Linked DNA regions of Homo sapiens: region 2 is linked to region 1. Evidence: promoter capture Hi-C in 16 types of primary human blood cells and fetal thymus (Javierre and others, 2016). All regions are on one chromosome and are shown on one strand. The core of a region is centred on a gene start or on the middle of the fragment in contact, and the rest is flanking DNA. Distances in the headings are between cores, read along the strand shown.

Evidence for each region. Contacts are between HindIII fragments. The CHiCAGO score rates a contact against its expected background, and 5 or more counts as called.
Region 2: a fragment that was not itself captured here is called in contact with the fragment with the promoter of FAM98C in region 1 in 11 of 17 cell types (non-activated CD4 T cells, M0 macrophages, total B cells and 8 more); the score reaches 10.1 in non-activated CD4 T cells.

What each region holds. Positions count from the first base shown.
Region 1 is chr19:38,400,714-38,406,897 of GRCh38, reverse strand. It overlaps FAM98C (family with sequence similarity 98 member C), which reads right to left and starts at 3,805. Exons shown (of 8, transcript NM_174905.4): 1 at 3,680-3,805; 2 at 3,412-3,560; 3 at 3,204-3,338; 4 at 1,785-1,990; 5 at 1,477-1,554; 6 at 1,263-1,379. The coding sequence starts at 3,744. RefSeq lists silencers at 3,299-3,498, 3,689-4,018. The HindIII fragment of the contact is 11,725 bases long and covers 1-4,857 here.
Region 2 is chr19:38,931,990-38,938,990 of GRCh38, reverse strand. MRPS12 (mitochondrial ribosomal protein S12) reads right to left here. Exons shown (of 3, transcript NM_033362.4): 3 at 5,823-6,658. The coding sequence ends at 6,291. It overlaps LOC124904713 (a long non-coding RNA gene), which reads left to right. Exons shown (of 2, transcript XR_007067253.1): 2 at 2,139-4,168. Among named protein-coding and RNA genes, the nearest start is that of MRPS12, 4.5 kb to the right of the region's middle. The HindIII fragment of the contact is 303 bases long and covers 5,197-5,499 here.

The DNA.
Region 1 (6,184 bases), core at 2,556-5,055:
GGAGGTAAGAGAAGGTACCCTGGAGCCCTTCCCCACGTGGGACCTGTCATCTTGGAAGCATTACTTTACCATTCAAGACCTCACTGCCCACAGCTCAAATAAATATTTATTTTTTGAGACAGGGTCTCGCTGTCACCCAGCCTGGAGTGTGGTGGCGTGATGGTGGCTCACTGCAGCCTCAATCTCCTGGGCTCAAGTGATCCTCCTACCTTAGCCTCCTGAGTAACTGAGATGGACAAGCATGCGCCACCATGCCCAGCTAATTTTTTTTTTTTTAATTTTTAGTAGAGACGGGGGTCTTGCTATGTTGCCCAAGGTGGTCTCAAACTTCTGAGCTCAAGTGATCCTCTTGCCTTGGCCTCCCAAAGTGCTGGGATAACAGGCATGAGCCACTGTGCCTGACTCTGCTCGTATCTCTTAAAGATGGGGTACACTTGGCCAGGCGTGGTGGCTCATGCCTGCAATCCCAGAACCTTGGAAGGCCAAGGCAGGCAGATCACCTGAGGTTGGGAGTTTGAGACCAGCCTAACCAACATGGAGAAACCCTGTCTGTACTAAAAAATACAAAATTAGCCCGGCGTGGTGGTGCATGCCTGAAATCCCAGCTACTCGGGAGGCTGAGGCAAGAAAATCACTTGAACCCAGGAGGCGGAGGTTGCGGTGAGCCAAGATCGCACCATTGCACTCCAGCGTGGCCAACAAAAGCAAAACTCCGTCTCAAAAAATAAAAAATAAAAAAAAAAGGCTGGGTGCAGTGGCTCATGCCTGTAATCCTAGCACTTTGGGAGGCCAAGACAGGCAGATCACAAGGTCAGGAGATCGAGACCATCCTAGCCAACATGGTGAAACCCTGTCTCTACTAAAAATACAAAAATTAGCTGGGCATGGTGGCATGTGCCCGTAATCCCAGCTACTCAGGAGGCTGAGGCAGGAGAATCACTTGAACCCGGGAGTCGGAGGTTGCAGTGAGCTGAGATCGCACCACCACACTCCAGCCTGGCAACAGAGTGAGACCCCGTCTCAAAAAAAAAAAAAAAATGATGGGGTATGCCTCTGAATATACTGCCAGCTCAGAGCTGGGAATTCAACAATACCCTGGGACCCTGAGATTCTAGGAGCCCCAAACCTCAAAAAATTATAAAATGTCCATGGCCTGAGAACCTGCAAGAGGGTGATACTCCTGGCCCTCATTCCTCCTCCCTGCAACTGCAGCCCCCACAACTGGGCCTCTCCAATTCTGCATGGTCCCCTGCCCACCACACCTCTGCCCGGTCACTCCAGTGGAAAGCAGATGTAGTGAGGTCAAGGCGCTTGAGGAGGAGGCAGCGGCGGCAGCGGTACTGATCTCTGAGGCTTTGGGACAGAGACTCCAACGCTTCCTGGGAGAAAAGGTCTCAAGGTCAGGCTAGGGGTCCCTCTCACTGCCACCTCTGATGAGGACACAGTTCACATTCAGTCAGTCGCACACAGTCTTACCCATCTGGGTGCATCTAGCGAGCAGCTGAGGAGGGGCTGCAGGGACCCTGGGGGCAGAGAAGGCTGCAGCTCTGAGATCTGATGGGAGAAGAAGTCAGAGGCCAACTGGGGCAGAGAGGATGGGCCCCTCTGTAAACTCAGCTCCCCACACCCCTGAGGACCTAGGCCACAGATGTGAGAATGCCAGTCACAGCTCCAGAAAAAACAGGCCAGTGGTTGGAATACTCCTTCCAGAAGTGGAGAGAGGACCCCCACCCCCACAAGGAAAGTGGGGTAGCCCAGGTCGGGAGGGGACTCTGACTCTCTACCTTAGCATGCAACTCCTGCAGCAGCTGGCTGGCGGGGGTCCCTGGTGCAGGTCTGGGCAGCCCCAGGGCTTGGAGGGTAAGGTCCAGTTCTTGGACCATGCCGGCTCCCTCCACTACCCCTTCACCAAGGGGTGGCCTAGGACTCGGATCCAGCAGAGAGCGGAGGCACAGGAGGCGGGTGGCTTGGAGCTCTGAGCAGAGAAAGCCTGAAAGTAATAAATGGGTGCTGTGCACTCAGGGAGGCTGCTACCCACTCATCCATCTTGGTCAAAAAGCTCCACTGATGGCCGGGTGCGGTGGCTCACACCTGTAATCCCAGCACTTTGGGAGGCAGAGGCGGGCGGATCACGAGGTCAGGAGATGGAGACCAGCCTGGCCAACATGGTGAAACTGTGTCTCTACTAAAAATACAAAAATTAGCAGGACATAGTGGTGAGTGCTTGTAATCCCAGCTACTCGGGAGGCTGAAGCAGGAAAATCGCTTGAACCAGGAAGTTGGAGGTTGCAGTGAGCTGAGATCATGTCACTGTACTCCAGCCTGGCAACAGGGCGAGACTCCATTTCAAAAAAAAAAGAGGCTCCACCGGCTTTAAAACCTCCACCTTTGCCCAGGCACAGTGGCTCATGCCTGTAGCCTGTAATCCCAACACCTTGGGAGGCTGAGGTGGGAGGATCGCTTGAAGCCAGGAGTTGAAGACCAGACAGGGCAACATAGGGAGACCCCACCTCCACTTAAAAACAAAACAAAACAAAATCCTCCACCTTCTAGTCCCCCCCACCTAAAGCCTTCCAGAGTAAGCCCCACCTTGAGACCCTGTCCCCTCCTACGAATTCCACTCCTGCCCACTTTGAAACCTCAAGCCTTCCTCCTAATCCAACCCACTTGAGCTCCTAGGCCCTCCAATTAAAATTCTAACCCCGGGCCGGGCGTGGTGGGCTCACGCCTGTAATCCCAACACTTTGGGAGGCCGAGGTGGACAGATCACCTGGGGTCAGGAGTTCGAGACCTGCCTGGCTAACATGGTGAAACCCCGTTTCTACTAAAAATAGCCGAGTGTGGTGTCGCGCGCCTGTAATCCCAGCTACTCGGGAGGCTGAGGCAAGAGAATCACTTGAACCTGGGAGGTGGAGGTTGCAGTGAGCCGAGATCACGCCACTGCACTCCAGCTTGGGTAACAAGAGTGAAACTCCATCTCAAAAATAATAATAATAAAATAAATAAAAAATAAAACGAAATTCTACCCCCGCCCATTTTAGAGCGCTCTGCTTGCCCCAACATGCTCACCCCACCCACCTCGTACCCTCTGGGCCGCCCCAAAGTTCTGACCACACCCCTTGGGAACCTCGATTTCCCCTAAAAAGTCAGAGCCCGCCGCTCCGGAGGCCATGGCCTTGCCACTTCTGCATCCCGGGACTCACGCAGCAGGCGCAGTCCGGCACCGGGTTCCCGAAGCGCAGCCGCGCCATCCCCGCCGCAGAGCGCGCGATCCGGGCAGTGCAGCTCCCGCAGCAGGCTGCCGAGCTGCCGCAGAAAGTCCTCCTCCGCGCCAGGGCCTGCGAGGACAGGGGTGTCAGGGCTCGGTGGCCCCGTGGCGGCCCCCCTGCCACCCTCCCGCTCCGTGTTTACCGTCGCCGGCGCTCAGCACCTCCGCGCCCGCCTCTCGCTGCTGCTCGAGGGCGCCCAGCGTCGCCAGCTCCGCCGCCAGCCGCACGCACAGCCCCCTGAAGTCTGGGCATGAGGCGCCCCGCGACGCCGCCCCCGGGACACCTCCATACCTGTGGGGACCGAGGCAGCGGGAGGGGGCGGGGATGTCACTGGGAATCCCTTTTCGTCCGCGTCCAGGGGGCAGACCTGGCCTTCCTGCACCCACCAGCCTCACCGCACACCCTTTTACCCCAGAGCCAGCAGGTCCTGGGCCACCGCGGCCCCCTCCCACGCTTCCGCCTTCACCGCCTCCATGAAAGTGTGGTCTCGGCGCGCCCCCTGGCGGCCGGTGGCAGGCTCCGCCCCAAAAGCGCCGCGCGCACGAGCTCCCCGCAGCGTCCGGCGGCACTGACCAATCGGCATCTTCCCGCGCAGGGGCTTGGGTGCTCCCATTGGCGCAGGAGGACGCCGAACCCGCCCCGGGGCCCGCCCGCCCCGCCCCTCGGCTAACCTGTCGGGGTTGTAGGAACGCCCCCTGGAGCTGTAAATTGCAGTGCGTTCGGGATCTCCGCTGTCAAGACAAGCTGGCGGCGGGTGTCACTGTTGCGGCGACATAAAAACAACTTCGGTGCCATTTTCCTTTTCCTCCCTCAGTTGTCTTCTGCTGGTGTTTTGTTGGTTTGTTTTTGAGGCAGATTTCGCTCTATCGTTCAGGCTGGACTGCAGTGGCGCCATCGCGGCTCACTGCAGTCTCGACCTTCTGGGCTCAAGAGATCCTCCCGCCTCAGCCTCCCAGCTAAATTTTTAAAAATCAGTCAGCCTTGGTGGCTTACACCTAGTAGCTGGGACCACAGGCGCAGACCACCGCGCCTGGCTGATTTGTTTTTAATTTTTTTGTAGAGACAAGGTTTCCTCATGTTGCCCAGCCTGGTTTCCAACTGCTGGGTTCAAGCGATCCGCCTGCCTCGGCCTCCCAAAGTGCTGGAATTACAGGCGTGAGCCACTGCAACCGGCCAATTTTTTTTTTTTTTTAAAGTTTTGTAGAGGCCGGGCACGGTGGCTCACGCATGTAATCCCAGCACTTTGGGAGGCTGAGGTGGGTGGATCACTTGAGGTCAGGAGTTCGAGACCAGCCTGGGCACATGGTGAAACCTCATCTCTAATAAAAATACAAAAATTAGCCGGGCGTGGTGGCACACGCCTGTAGTCACCACTATTTGGGAGGCTGAGGCAGGAGAATTGCTTGAGCCCGGGAGACACAGACTGCAGTGAGCCAAGATCGCGCCACTGCACTCCAGCCTGGGGACAGAGCAAGACTCCGTGTCAAAAAAGAAATAAAGTTTTGTAGAGAGGGGTCTAGCTATGTCGCCCAGGTTTGCCTCTAACTCCAGTGTTCAAGCAATCCTTCCCTCTCAGCCTTCCAAAGCTTGGGATTACAGGCTTGAGCCAGTGTTCCTGGCCCTGTCCTCTGCTCTTAAAGCAGCCCAGACGGAGTGGTGTTCACCCAACTCTGCCTAAAATCCAAAACTTCCTCCCTCCTTTCCACCTCAGGGTTTGAATTACATAAGGGACCCAGGAATCCCAGCACACCCCTCACACACCAGGCCCTCCTCATCGATCACGATGTGCCTGTTAGGCCTTCACTCCTCTCCCTCTTAGGCCTTGGAGTGAGCAGGTGCAATGCACCATAGTGGTTAAGAGATTACACCCTAGGAATCAGGCAAAGGGTTAGGGCTTGATTCTGTTACTCGCCAGCTCCATGTTCCTGCCAAATTGCTTCCCATCTGTATAATGGGGATAATAGTACCTACCTCTTAGAGTTGTTGCTGAGGATTAATTAGAGTTTCATATGTAAAAAGTGCTTAGCAGATATATAGGGAGTACTTAATAAGGAATAACTAATATATATACAGCATTTAATGTGTACTATTGGGCGAAGTATCTTATCTCTTTTACAGAAGAGAAAACTAAGGTTGAGAGAAGATAAGTCACAGAGTGAATTCATGGTGATGCCAAGGCTTGAAGATGAAATTCCAGACTCTATACTCTTAAACCACGGAACCTATTTCCACTGTTACTACTGCTGTTGTTTTGTTGCTGTTGCTAAGTAAACATTGTGTCAGATCTAATCTCTTCCTTACTGTATCCTGGTATCCAGTAGTTCCTAGACAATTCTGCTGGAAGTTGGGGGTGGACCAGGAGCCTGGAGGGAAGAACAGGGGTAGAACTTGTTCCTTAAGGGCAGATACGAGTAACCCCATAACCCTGTTTACCCCAAGGCAGGACACTTGGGGGGCTATTTTTTGACATAAATCAAATGTTAAAAATTGCCCAGAGGTGGGCCACAGTGGCTCACACCTGTAATCCCCGCCTTTCAGGAGGCTGAGGTGGGAGGATCGCTTGAGCCCAGGAGTTTAAGACCAGACCAGGCACCATAGTGAGAACATGTCTCTACAAAAACATTTTTAAAATTAGCCAGGCTTGGTGGTGTGCACCTGTAATCCCAGCTACTCGGGATGCTGAGGTGGGGGGATCACTTGGGCTCATGAGTTTGAGGCTGCAATGAGCAGTGATCATGCCACTGCACTCCAGCCTGGGTGATGAACTCAATTTAAAACAAAAAAAAAAATTGCTCCAGCCAAAAACCTGGACTTACTATCTTGACTCCTCTATCTCAAATCCCATACATAAATCTGTGGGTTCTATTTACAAAGTAGGCCCAACACCTGCCCACTTCTCCACCCTTCAGGGCCCT
Region 2 (7,001 bases), core at 4,099-6,598, 530 kb before region 1:
AGGATATTATTTTTGATGGCGGCCATTGTTAAGCCTCCAGAACCTATACCTTTAAAATGGTTAACAGATAAGCCAATTTGGATAGAACAATGGCCGCTAAGTAAAGAGAAACTGAAGGCTTTAGAGGAATTAGTTACTGAATAATTAGAAAACGGACACATAGCTCCAACATTTTCCCCTTGGAATTCTCCAGTTTTCGTAATTAAGAAAAGAATCAGATAAACGGAGAATGTTAACTGACTTAAGAGCCATTAATTCAGTTATACAACCCATGGGTACATTACAGCCAGGATTGCCTTCTCCTGCTATGATTCCAAAAAATTGGCCTTTAATAGTCATAGATTTAAAAGACTGTTTCTTTACTATCCCCTTAGCTGAGCAAGACTGTGAACAGTTTGCATTTACAATTCCTGCAGTAAACAACCTGCAGCCTGCTAAGCGTTTTCACTGGAAAGTATTGCCACAAGGCATGTTAAACAGCCCAACAATTTGCCAGACTTATGTAGGGCAAGCAATTGAACCTACTCGTTAAAAGTTTTCACAGTGTTACATTATTCATTATATGGATGATATACTTTGTGCTGCCCCCACTCGAGAAGTATTACTCCAATGTTATGATCACTTACAAAATTCGATTTCTTGCGCTGGTTTAATTATAGCTCCTGACAAAATTCAGACTACTACTCCTTACTCCTACTTGGGGACCTTAGTAAATGACACTACCATTGTGCCACAGAAAGCAACCATACATAGGAATCAATTGAAAACATTAAAGGACTTTCAAAAATTACTAGGGGACATTAATTGGATACGACCTGCTCTAGGCATTCCTACCTATGCCATGAGTAATCTATTTTCTATCCTTAGAGGAGATCCTGGTCTCACAAGCCCTCGGTAATTAACAAGAGAAGCTGAGGCAGAGCTGCGGCTAATCGAAAAGCAAGTCCATAAAGCTCAAATAAATAGATTAGATCCAGAGAAGACTCTAGATTTGCTAATTTTTCCAACTCAGCATTCACCTACTGGTGTTATTGTTCAAGAGTGAGATCTTGTAGAGTGGCTTTTTCTTCCACATACTAATTCACGGACTCTAACTCCTTATTTGGATCAAATTGCTACTATGATAGGAAATGGGAGAACTCGGATTGTTAAATTACATGGATATGATCCTGGAAAAATTATTATCCCTCTCACAAAGGCACAAATACAGCAAGCTTTTATAAATAGTCTTACTTGGCAAACCAATTAAGCTGACTTTGTGGGTATTCTCGATAACCATTTTCCTAAACAAAACTGTTTTAATTTTTGAAATTAACTAATTGGATTCTCCCTAAAATAACTAAATTTAAACCAATTGAAGGTGCTGAAAATGTTTTTACAGATGGGTCTAGTAATGGTAAAGCTTCTTATTCTGGCTCAAAAAGTAAAGTTTTTCAGATGCCCTATACTTCAGCTCAAAAAGTGGAGCCTGTAGCTGTAATTGAGGTAGTGACTGCTTTTCATATGCCTATTAATGTGATTTCTGACTCTTCATACGTGATTCATTCCACACAATTAACTGAAAATGCTCAGTTACAATTTCCTGCAGATGAACAACTGATGATTTTATTTACCCAACTGCAAACAGCAGTTAGGAGTAGAATGCACCCTTTTTACATCACTCACATTAGGGCTCATACACCTCTTCCAGGCGTCACCTTTTGCAGTGTTTTGCAGTGATGGGCATTCCAGCTTCTATTAAAACAGATAAAGCCCCAGGCTACACTAGCCGAGCTCTAGCTACATTTTTCTCTATACGGAATATTAAACACATTACTGGTATCCCATATAATTCTCAAGGACAAGCCATAGTGGAAAGAATGAATCTCTCCCTGAAACAGCAGTTGCAAAAGCAAAAAAAAGGGGGGAAAACAAGGACTACGGGACACCCCATATGCAACTGAATCTAGCATTGTTAACTTTAAATTTTTTGAGCCTGCCTAAAGGCCAGATCCTATCAGTAGCTGAACAGCATCTACAGAAACCAGCTGCAAAGACAGAAGCAGAACAACTAGTTTGGTGGAGAGATCCAATAACAAAAAGTTAGGAAATAGGTAAAATAATAACTTGGGGTAGAGGTTATGCTTGTGTTTCTCCAGGACTGACTCAACAGCCGATTTGGATACCATCAAGACACCTGAAACCTTATCATGAGCCAGATGCTGAGGAAGAGATTCCGGGAGGAAACTGAGGACCCCCCCCACCCCCGGTTGCAGCCATGTCGAGACTGACGCTGAGGAAGACCCCAACTGTCACGAGCAACACCTGTCAAACACAGCCACCCACCTGGAGACAGATCAAGAAGCTGTCACAGATGGTGGAAGAAAACCTGAGGAAAGTGGGACAACCAGTCGCAATGAGTAATTTAATGGTAGCTATGATAGCGATGATCACCACTGCCATGAGTATTCCTTCAATAAGGGCTGACACAGAGGACAATTATACTTATTGGGCATATTTATCAATCTTGGCTGGCAATAATGCCTGGATGTAATCACTCTATGACACAGTTATACAAGCTTTCTGATCTCATAATAAATCTGCTCCTATAATTGAGGCATACTGCCCTCAAAAACATATTTGTAAACAGGATTGGACCCAGTTAGCAAAAATGAACGTACTTGTTTAGGAAGATTGCTTTGCAGAACAGGCAGAGGTGCTGCACAACAATTCCTATGGAATCATTATTAATTGGTCACCTATGGGGATGTTTAGCTTGAACTGCACCTCTCAGTCTGCATGCCATGGCCACACTGTGATCAGCTCATCTGAACAAAATGGTCAGATGATAGAAATGGTAAGAAATACAGCAAGAGTTCCTATTATCTGGAACCATGGCAGTATAGTGGCACCTCAGCCTCAAATGATATGGCCTGCTCTAGGAGCTAAACATAAGCATTTGTGGAAACTGTTAATAGCTCTTAATAAAATCAAAATTTGGGAAAGAATAAAAAAGCATCTAGAAGGCCACTCTACAAACTTGTATTTGGATATTGCAAAATTGAAAGAACAAATATTTAAAGTATCCCAGGCACACGTGAACTTAATGCCAGGAACTGGAGTGCTTGAAGGAGCTGCAGACAGATTAGCAGCTAGTAACCCATTCAAATGGATAAAAACACTTGGAGGCTCTGTGATTTCAATGATGATTGTGCTTTTACTCTGTGTTGTTTGTCTTTGTATAGTGTGCAGATGCGGATCCTGACTCCTGTGAGAAGTAGCTCACCGTGACAAAGCTGCCTTTGCTTTTATCACTTTGCAAAACAAAAAAGGGGACATGTTGGGAACAGGCCCCTGAATCTGGCCATAAACTGGCCCCAAAACTGGCCATAAACAAAATCTCTGCAGCACTGTGACATGTTCATGATGGCCATGACCCCCACCCTGAAGGTCGTGGGTTTACTGGAATGAGGGCAAGGAACACCTGGCTCACCCAGGATGGAAAACGGCTTAAAGGGGTTCCTGTACCACAAACAATAGCATGAGCGATCTGTGCCTTAAGGACATGTTCCTGCTGCAGATAACTAGCCAGAGCCCATCCGTTTATTTTGGCACATCCCTTTATTTCCCATAAGAAATGCTTTTAGTTAATCTATAATCTATAGAAATAATGCTTATCACTGGCTTGCTGTCAATAAATATGTGTGTAAATCTCTGTTCGAGGCTCTCAGCTCTGAAGGCTGTGAGACCCCTGATTTCCCACTCCACACCCTGTATTTCTGGGTGTGTGTCTTTAATTCCTCTAGCGCCACTGGGTTAGGGTCTCCACGACCCAGCTGGTCTCGGCACTCTGGGATCCTGCCACGGGGCTGTGTAACCAGCCATCTCTGTGCAACATGCCCAGCACTGCCTGTCAGCATCTCCTGTTCAGGTCAGGCTAGCACCTCTCTCATCAGAATTCCAGAATTCCATCAGAGGCCAAGTCCCCCACCCCCACCTCCTGCCCTTGCTTTGGGGGCAACTTCCTGCAAGGTAACACTTCCTTTTCTCCACACTCCTGTATACAGACTCCTGGAGCAGAGTGTGCCATGAGGAAAAGCTCTCCCATCCCCCCATCTCCCTCCACTTCTCTATTTCTCAGCTAGGCATGGCCAACAAACTAGCTCAATAAAACTGGTGCCAAATATGAGGGGATGGGCAATTTTTATCTGTAATCAGTGCACTTATCTGCCACCAGCTCTGATCCTAAAAGACCTTGTGGCCTCATGTTTACAATCAGGAGACCCTCAGGAGGCTGTGTGTTGAGCGTCAAGAGGAACTCGGAGACAGCTATGATGCTCCAAACAGCTCTCAAGCATGCACCCTTATCAGCGCCATTTGGTCCAGGCTCAGAGTGTAAACAACCTGCCCAAGGTCACCCAGCCAGTAAGTAGGGGAGGCAGGGCTTGGAGCAGTGCTGGGCTCCAGAGCCCAATGATATAAACACAGTTCCAACATTGTTTTTTCTTTTTTCTTTTTTTGAGACAGAGTCTCACTCTGTCACCCAGGCTGCAGTGCAGTGGTGCTGATCTCAGCTCACTGCAACCTCCACCTCCCAGGTTCAAGCAAGTCTCCTGCCTCAGCCTCCTGAGTAGCTGAGATTATAGGCACATGCCACCATGCCCGGGTAATTTTTGTATTTTTAGTAGAGACAGGGTTTCACCATGTTGGCCAGGCTGGTCTCAAACTCCTGACCTCAAGTGGTCGGCCCACCTCGGCCTCCCAAAGTGTTGAGATTACAGGCATGAGCCACTGCACCTGGCCCCACTTCTTAAATCTTACATGGCCAAAAACATGATCAGGTGCAGTCAGCATTATCATCAGTGCCATTTTCCAAGGGAGGAAACCGAGGCCCATAGGGGGAACCAACATAGCCAGGTCTCATAGCAATTATGACGGGGAGCAGAATTTGAGCTCAGGTGAACCCAGTAATAATTTTATATTATTATATAATATAATAGTGGCTCACACCTATAATCCAGCATTTTAGGAGGCCAAGGTGGAAGGATCTCTTGAGGCCAAGAGTTCGAGACCAGCCTGGACAACAAAGCCAGATTCCCACTCTAAAAAAATGGAAAAGTTAGCCAGGTGTGGTGGCACACACCTGTGGTCCTGACTACTCAGGAGGCTGAGGCGGGAGGATCTATTGAGCTCAGGAGGTCAAGGCTGAAGTAAGCTTTGATCATAGAACCGCACTCCAGCCTGGACAACACAGTGAGACTCTGTCTCTCTCTCTACACAAACACACACAAACACACACACACACACACACACACACACACACGTATAAAATAAAAGAACAGCTCCCGGGTGTGGAGCAGCACACCCCATTGAATCCTTTCCACACCCCTTCCACATCAACATTACAATTACTGCCATTTTCCAGCTGTCCATGCTTGAGGGCAGAGTTTATGTGCCCAGAACCCATGGCCTGCAGGAAGAAGACCTGGGCCTCTGTGCCACCTACCTGACTCCTAAGCTTAAAATACAGTAGCCCTCTGCCAGGCGTGGTGGCTCACGCCTGTAATCCCAGCACTTTGGGAGGCCAAGGTGGGCAGATCACCCGAGCTCAGGAGTTTGAGACCAGCCTGGCCAACATGGTGAAACGCTGTCTCTACTAAAAATACAAAAATTAGCCAGGCCTGGTGGTGTGTGCCTACAATCCCAGCTACTCGGGAGGCTGAGGCAGGAGAATCATATGAACCCGGGGGGCAGAGGTTGCAGTGAGCTGAGATCAGGCCACTGCACTCCAGCCTGGGCAACAGAGTGAGACTTTGTCTAAAAAAAAAAAAAAGAGCCCTCCGTGCGTGTTATGCACATAGAGCATCGAATTTAATCTTCACCAAACCAAACAAAGGAGATACCACCAATGGAGCTATTTTCTGGAGGAAACTGAAGCTCAGAGATGTCCACTGCCACAGCCACACAGAGGGCAAATACTCCACAAGGGGATTTACATCACAAGCGCCAGGGTCTGTTTATTAAAACCCCTTCCCAGCAGAGGGCAGTACAGTGTCTTGTCCCAGCAGAAAAGGTCCTTCAGGCCACCCCTCTAAACACAGGAGCCAAGGGTGTTGACAGAGGGGCACCCTTTGCACCCCCAGGACTCCTATGGCTTAATAGTGGTCCTGATGGAAGAGGCGGAGCCAGGACTTGAATCCATGAGTGGCTGCCTCTAGAGGCGCAAAGGCCAGCATCGGAGGACCCTGTGGCAGCCAGGAGCGGAAGGTTCATGTTCTGCAGGGGCGCCCAGCCCACTGTGCCCCCAGCCGTCACTTCTTCTGCACGTGGCCACAGTCGTACTTGCCACGCACAACGGTGAGCTTGACGCCTGGCAGGTCCTGGGTGCGGCCGCCCTCCACAAGGACAATCTGGTGCTCCTGCAGGGTGTGGCCCTCCCCAGGGATGAAGCAGACGGCCTCGCGGCCAGTGCTGAGCCGCACTCGACAGCACTTGCGATTGGCTGAGTTGGGCTTCTTCGGCTTGCGGGTAAACGTGCACAGGACCACACCCTTCAGCTGCGGCCGGCCTTCCGTGGGGCCCAGCTTCCGAGGCGGCCGCTTGGGGGGCCCCAGGCGGTGCATCTGGTTCAGGGTAGCCATGGAGCAGGTAGCCCAGAGCCGGGGAACCAGAGCTGGGCCTGGAGAGGGCCGAAAGGGGTTATTATCCCAGAGAACAGATCTTAGAGTAGTAGCAACTCAATTTTGGTGTTTTAGGCATTGTTTAAAGCACTTTACAAAGATGCATTTGTTCACATCTAATGTTATCTACAGACAAAAGTAACTCTTTATTCTTCAAGGAAGCATTACCTTTTTTTTTTTTTTCTTTTTTTTTTTTGAGACAAAGTCTCACTCTGTCGCCCAGGCTGGAGTGCAGTACCTCAATCTTGGCCCACTGCAACCTCTGCCTCCTGGGTTCAAGCAATTCTCCTGTCTCAGCCTCCTGAGCAGCTGGGACTACAGGCACCCACCACCACGCTCGGC